Linked DNA regions of Homo sapiens: region 2 is linked to region 1. Evidence: promoter capture Hi-C in 16 types of primary human blood cells and fetal thymus (Javierre and others, 2016). All regions are on one chromosome and are shown on one strand. Each heading gives the region's core, a stretch centred on a gene start or on the middle of the fragment in contact. The rest is flanking DNA. Distances are from core to core; before and after follow the strand shown.

Region 1 (3,540 bases), core at 301-2,800:
CTTAATTTACGGGCCATTCCTTCCCCCCAATCCAATAATTTAGAGAGGCCTCAAGTACAACTTCTCCATTCCCCAGACCCGCTACTCTCTACCCCAAGAAATCTTCAAACTCCAGGAGCGGTTGGGGAAGATAAAAAGAAATCTGGAGTGGCCTAAGAGTTAGAATGGGAGGGGAACGGTGCTAGGGCAAGAAGAGATTATACTGGGATCAGTATAGTAAAGATCAGTAAAGAGAAGATAAGAACGCGGTCTGACCCTTTCCAAGCCCATTATGTCCATCAGAAGAGATGACGAGGAGCAGGAAACTGAAGCCCAGCAAACAGGTGGCCCCGAGACGAGGCCGCGTCTCCATGGCAGTAGGTGCGCGGGGCCACGGGGCTGAGCGGACGCAGGGCCGGAGTCCCAGCAGACGGTCCACACAGTTCGCCGAGCGCCGCTCAGCACAACACCTCTACTTCCCAGATTTTTTTTTTTCAAACTCTGAAGGAAGTGATGTTAGACGGATGTGGGTGGTGCCTCCGGGGTCCGGTTTGGGATGGAGTGAGCTTAAAGGTGCAGATCACGTAGAAGGGTACGAGAGCTGTTCTCGAGCGCGAGTTGCTTTTCGTGGATTCTGGGTGTCCAGGTCCCGGGACGGAGCGGGAAAATGTAGGCCAAGATAGTAGGGGCGGGGGAGAGGTTCGGGAGAACCGTTGCTCCTCGCGTCCGCCACCCAGTCCAGCCCCTCCCCCCAAGAACCGCTGCACTTCCTAGTCAAAAGCAAATTATTGATTCGTGAGGTCAGTCGCTCCCAACAGTGGGCGGATTGCCCACTGGCCTCGGATTCTCCTTACCCCTCCACAAATCAAGACTGGACAACTGGATTTCATTGTTAGGTTCCTGCGAGGGTCTCTGAGGAGACCTGGCAAGCCTGTTCTGCGGTGCGTGGGCTCGTGCCGTGCAGACATGCACTTTCCCGCTGGAGAAGCTCTGTACCTTATTTTTCCTTGCAACCGCAAATCTTCTACTCAGGGATGATGCAACCAACTGATGCAAGCTCCAAGAAAACCAAACTTGGGACCTCTTATTGCAAAACTGACTTAGGTGGACTTAGGACACCAGGATATAAGTCACTGCAGGCTAAAGTGTAAAGCTTCTGGTTATTTTTCTTGTAGCTTGAGGATTTCTTCCCAATTTTTCCCCTTCGCTGTATAACAAACAGGTGAAAATGTCCGGTCTTTTTCTTCCTGGTACTAGTTGAGTCCTAAAGTCCGTACTTAATGCATAGCGAAAAAGCGACCTAACAAAAGTACACACCCAAATAAAAACATACCGACCACCCTTTTATTAGGTTCCCTAAAATTGTAGGCAGGGACACAACAGAACGCTCGGGAGACTGCAAGCCCCAGGATGCCGCGCGGCCACCTGCACCTGCCGCCACTAGCACTAAGAGGGATGCGCAAAGCAGGCGGGGCGTTGGAGTTCAGATGTTCGCTCCCGGGATAGGCTGCCCCGGAGAGGGAGAGGCGGGGTCGGCTGTATCACGTGGATCTGCTCCCGCCGCCGCCGCCGCCGCCGTCGTCTTTCTCTGTCTCGGCTGAGGCAGCCATCTTTCTCTTGCCGCGTGCTGGTGTTGGAGGACCCTCCCTGCTTCAGGTGAGACCCCCGGCGGTCCCGCCACTTCACGGCCATAGGCCGCTGCGCACGGTCTCCCCCCGCCCTCCCCTTCCGACACCCGCCAACCGCTCAGGCTGCCACTTCCGCCGTGGTGCGGCGAGCGGGGGCGGAGGCGGCTGGCTTGGCCTGTCGGTTACCGGCGGCGCAGCTGGGGGTCGGCACCTGTGGGAAGGTCCCCAGCACCACCGCCCCCTGTGGGAGCGAGCGGGCCCGCCCTGTTGCCGCCCAGACCCTGTCCCAGGAGGCAGGTGGACGCCCCTCCTCTGTTCCATTACTCCTTGCTCACAACAGCAGTGTTGTGTGCTTTGAGCTTTATACAGGCTCTCTGTTGTCATCTCATTTGATGCTCCCAGTCTACAGATAGGGAAGCTGAGGTTACCACTTCCCGCCCTTGAGTCCAGGGAACCGAACTCAGTTACAGCACTCTTCACCTTGTAATGGCAGTGTTTGTTTACAAGTCGGCGTCCCTTGCCCATCTTTATAACCCCCCTCCCACTGCCTGCTGACCGACAGGCTCAGTGTTGCACAGCTAGTGAATGGCGGTTTCAACTTCCGTTCCCACATTCTTGCAGTTTACCATAGTTGTCCCCTCGGGAGTGGTAACAATAGTTACCAGTAACTGTGTATCTTCTGTGAACCATTCCCTGTGGTTGATAATGTTTTAACCCTCAAAACAACCCTGTGAAGTACGTGGTGTTATACCTTTCCAAATGCAGGAGGAATACAAGTTCAGAGAAGAAAAATACCTTTCCCAACTGGTAGAACCTTGGTCTTTCTGATTCCAAAGCCTGTGCTTGTCTTAGAGAAACCCTACATAATAAAAAGTCAGGACTCAAGGTTGCAATTATTTTTATCTCTGTGTAAACATGATGTATGTGAAAGTGCCTACCACAATGCTTCTAACTTAGGCACTTAATAAATATAAACCTGTTTACACCCTTTCTTGAGTCCTTGAGAACAGTGCTAAAAGATCCTGGAATCCCCAAGGAAGAACTCATTAATCATGTGGCTTTAGGAAGTTACTTCTCCCTTTTGGGCCTAGGAAGGGACTTCTCCCTTCTGGGCCCTTATTTCCTAATCTATTAAGATGGGAGGGAGGGAACTGTTTCGTTTGTAATTTATACTTTGCTGGTGCTAGCAGATGTTGAGATGACATCACAGATAGGAATGATGGGTGCAATAAAGTAGAGGTTGATTGAGAATAGAGAATTAAACCAGGTGATCTTGGAGGTCTACTCCAGATTCTGAGCTTGACATCGCATAGACTGAGTCCAGTCCTCTTTCCTACTTGAATTCCACACACCACAACTTGCCAAGAAACAAAAGACTACTCTTGTTCCTCCCCTACTGCCTTGAGCTCTCAGTCTCCCTAAAATCATTTTTCTCTGAGATACTCCTTAGGAACAAAATTTCTCAATTCTGTTGTCCTGACCACCTGGAATGGAATCTGTTCTTTCATCTATACCTTGATTTGAAGAGTTAATTTTGTTCTTGCTTTTATTTCAAACAAGTCAAGACTTTGTCTTGGCATCCCAACCTCTGTCTGTTCTCTTGGGAATTGTTACTTCAAAATGCAGAAGAATCCCAAAGGGTTTACCAAGTATCTAGGTCTAATGTTTTTCCTTAGCCCCTTTTTTTTTGCAATAAATTCCTTTGGCTCTTTGTTAGTTCACTACACTCTCATGGCCACATTCCTTTGAGAAAAGTGAATGTTGGTCCTTTTCTGTGGATATTTGAGCATAGGAATTGGGATTTAAGTCATCAAATTTAAGTCTATGGCAGAGCTAAGATTGGCACACATTTAAGACTTCTTGTTTTGGACTCTAAACACACTTCCTCCTATAAAAGTGTTTTTAGCTGCTTCAGCATTGTGATACAGCGCTG
Region 2 (3,921 bases), core at 405-2,904, 370 kb after region 1:
AACTGTACAAGTTCAGTACAGACACAGTTTTTTTTAATATCTGCAATCCGTGGTTGGTTGAATCCATAGATGCAAAACCCATGGATATGGAGGGCCTACTGTATGTACAAAAGTAAAGAGAATAATAAACACCCCTGTATACGTCATTACCTGTTCTCCAAGATGTGGAAGGACATGAAGTATTGAATGTTAATTTAAATCTTGAATGCTCCAAGTCATTTTAACATGAATGCATAGTTGGGTCAGGTATCTTGTTAATAAATGATTTAAGTCCACCACTTAATAGGATTCTGAAAGATGCTGACGCTTTAATAAGAAAAAATAGTAAATATACCTAACTCAGGTTAGGTAAAAAAAATAGTAAATATATTTAACTCAGGGCTGTAAATACAGCATGAATACCCTCAACCTCCTGCAATAGGTTTCAAATATCTTCCATGTTGCAAAATATGGCAAGGGCCCAAGCAGTCTCCTATTTAAGTAATGTATATCAGAGGAAGCGCAGCAAAGATAACCCACTGTCCTTACATTTTTATCTACTTATTCTGCACCTTTCCAAATAGATATATAGCATCATTTAGCCTAAAATCCCAGGCAACTGGACGGACTAATTAAGGGGTTAGAGAAAATTACCTCACCTCACTGCTAAAACAGCTAAAACATTATGCCACCAACAACTCGAGTCTGAATTCCAATACCCAATAATAATTAATTCCAAGTATTACTGGTAAATAATTATCATCTTGGCAAGTGTGCTTTCCAGGTGGAAGTATAGGACTCAAAATGAATACAGTCTGGGCTGGGTGCAGTGGCTCAACGCCTGTAATCCCAGCACTTTGGGAGGCCAAGGCAGGTGGATCACCTGAGGTCAGGAATTCGAGACCAGCCTGACCAACATGATGAAACCCCGCCACTACTAAAAATACAAAAATTGGCCAAGTGTGGTGGTGCATGCCTGTAATCCCAGCTACTCGGGAGGCTGAGGCAGGAGAATCGCTCAAACCCAGAAGACAGAGGTTGCAGTGAGCCGAGATCATACTACAGCACTGCAGCCTGGGTGACAGACAGACTCTATCTCAAAAAAAAAAAAAAAAAAAAGTAATCTTCCCTCCACTCTAATTGCCAATATTAGTCTCAGTGTTTTAAAATTCTCTTTCCAAATACTTTTCAATTCAGACTCCAGCATTGTTTGCTTTTTGGAATTTACTGACTGCTTTGCATTTCAGTTTTTATTTTCAAAGATAAAATGGAAATGGCTTCCGCTTCTATCAACCTCATATGGGTGTTGTGAACATCCAACCAAATAAAGGATATGAAATGTTACTTGAATCTCTAAAACTAAAATCTGTGATTTAGAATGCTCTATTCACTGAAATTAAAAGAAATCTTGTTACGTAATATTTCCATCATCTATACAACAGATTAACCAAATTTAACTCTTGTCAAAAAGATTTATTAACTTAAAATAGAAGTACTTCAAATACAGACAAAATCAACTTTCCATTCAAGTTTGAATGTTCAATATACAAGTATGGAAAAGAAAAAAAATCTGAATCTTCATGTTGTAATTTTATTTTATTTTTTTACCTTTTAAAAAGTTTTTGGCACTACAAGGTTCTGTAAAGAATAGAAGTGACAATTTAAAACACATGAAATTCTTTCCTAACTTTTAAGAACAATATATAAAGTCTGAAGCAACCAAAGTATGAATACAGCTAATAGAAAATAAAGAATGTAATTTTTTAAATTCTCTCTTTATACAATTCATCAAGGTTAAACAAAACATAAAATTCCCTTAAAAATAGGGTAATAAAATAGATGAAATTTGTATCACTCAATTTGGTGATACTAGTAAAAACTATAGTTCATATTTATATACAAATAATACAGTCTGTAAAAACAGTCTTAGAATTTAAATAAGCTATCTAAACGTGTTAAAATTTTAAATCAGGACCTGATTTGTTTTGCTTTCCATTAAATGTCACTTTTTCTGCTGAATGTAACTGACATTGAGGTACGGATACCCTTGAGACAGCAGGATTGGCTGGTTGCTGTGCATCGGTAGACCAGCTGAAAGAAAATGGACTCGCATTACTCCGACACGTTTCCTCTTGGTGGGTGGGGACAACGCTCTCTACACCGACGGGTGGCACATCTGTCTGTTGGATACAACACAGACAGGAAACTGAAAGGCTTGTGCCTGTTTATCTGACAACACCTTAGAATTAACTTGTAGTTAGCTTTCTTTTTTTCTATTTATATAATAGGAGGTGATAAAGCATGCTGCAAAACATTTGAGAGGGTGGGGAGAAAAATGAAGAAGGGAAGGAAATACCTGTATGTGAAAAAAGGAGAGGACACGAAAGATGGAGAGGAGGAATCAAAGGGAAAAAACCCACTAGAAAAGAGTTGCAGACTCTCCCCTCCTAAAAGGGCTTATGACTAATAGTAACTTCCTTCAGCCCCAGTTCTTTGCTCAAGAGAAGAGCTCAACCACAGTCAAGGCTCTGCCACTCTACAATACAGGGATGCCCCAGTAGTATATGGGTGGTTTAAGAAGGCTTAAATATAACAAGCCTGAGACCATACCAGGCACTTCCCCTTTAAGTTATCATTTCATTCAATCAGCATTTCCTGAGTGCCTGTTTTAACTTCTTGAACTCCTAGTTTAACTATACTGACTCTGACCCAAGTGTTCTGAACTAAGTTAACAAAGAGCTGAAGGCCAGACTCAGACAATGCCTATAAGAACAAATACCTCTGAGGCAAGTAGGTTAGATAAAATGCTCCAAGTTTCTAGGAATTCTTTGTTTGTAATATTCATTACCCAGTCAAAGCCATTATTAGTACTACAATAGCACCAGCAGAACATAATAAATTTTAAGGTCATTCAAGTCCTACGTTTACTAAACAAATATGATTATGTCTTCGTTCCACTAAAAACCTTTAATTAGGTCCCCAATGCTCAGTAAACCAAGTCCAAACTCCATAATATGGTCTAAGCCTACCCTCTCTAGCCTTATCACCATCTTTCCCATATACCTCCGTCCTCTAGCCCTAATATTTTCTACTCTTTTTCATTATGCCAGGCAAAACTCAGTGACTGCATATATTAATCCCTCAGCTAAGCATACTCCTCCTCCTCTCTCATCTCTAGGCAAAAAAAAAATTCCTGCATCTCTTTCAAGATCTAGCTCAACTGTCAAAATCTTGTGATGTAATAATCTTAAATCCACATCCTGTTTGGATTTGCTAGGGCAATGTTAACTGATTCATCTAAACTCCTTTTCTATTTAACATGTCTGGCTTTCCTAATAAAGTGTGCATCAAGTAATGGAGATTTTGTTTTACAAGCACCTAGCACCATCTGACACACAGTATAATTTCTCAGTAAATGTTTACTGAATTCATGAATTTTCACTCCCAGATCCTGGCCTTCACTAAGGCTCTCTATCCCAGAATAAAACCCACCCAAGCCTGTTAACTAATTTGTAAGCAGTGGTACCTTGAGTATAGAAAGGTTTGTTGGGCTGGAATCGGGCATTTCCCTGATGCATGAAGTTTTGATGCAAACCATAAGGCCACGAAGCTGGGACAAGGGGGAAATGGGGACGCGGTGCATGTTCCCAAGGAATTGGAGGAGTCAGTCCTCGAAAGCCTGGCTCTGCATTTCAACAAGAGGGAAAAAGACATTTAAAAACATTAGTTCATTCATTGAAATATCCCTTCATTCCACAAAGATATATTCAGTACCTACCATTGGCTAAGAACTATGCTAAATTCAGAGAATACCAAACAAACTTTTTTAAAGAATAAAGCATTGGTATTTGCTCAAATTATTCATAAGAGACATACAAGAAGAGATATATATATACACAACAATATGTAATAATTGCTAGTAGAACAGGCAAAATGTTCTGA

The links. The method cuts DNA at HindIII sites, captures the fragments that hold promoters and counts their contacts. A CHiCAGO score of 5 or more calls a contact.
Region 2: a fragment that was not itself captured here is called in contact with the fragment with the promoter of BTF3L4 in region 1 in 1 of 17 cell types (fetal thymus); the score reaches 5.0 in fetal thymus.

The regions. Positions count from the first base shown.
Region 1 is chr1:52,054,745-52,058,284 of GRCh38, forward strand. It overlaps BTF3L4 (basic transcription factor 3 like 4), which reads left to right and starts at 1,551. Exons shown (of 6, transcript NM_152265.5): 1 at 1,551-1,635. It overlaps TXNDC12 (thioredoxin domain containing 12), which reads right to left and starts at 447. Exons shown (of 7, transcript NM_015913.4): 1 at 256-447. The coding sequence starts at 352. RefSeq lists silencers at 471-875, 1,736-1,975 and enhancers at 1,041-1,754, 1,755-2,466. The HindIII fragment of the contact is 3,174 bases long and covers 1,131-3,540 here.
Region 2 is chr1:52,421,844-52,425,764 of GRCh38, forward strand. It overlaps TUT4 (terminal uridylyl transferase 4), which reads right to left. Exons shown (of 30, transcript NM_001009881.3): 29 at 3,506-3,664; 30 at 1,432-2,159. The coding sequence ends at 2,092. Among named protein-coding and RNA genes, the nearest start is that of PRPF38A, 19 kb to the left of the region's middle. RefSeq lists an enhancer at 2,037-2,086. The HindIII fragment of the contact is 5,285 bases long and covers 1-3,921 here.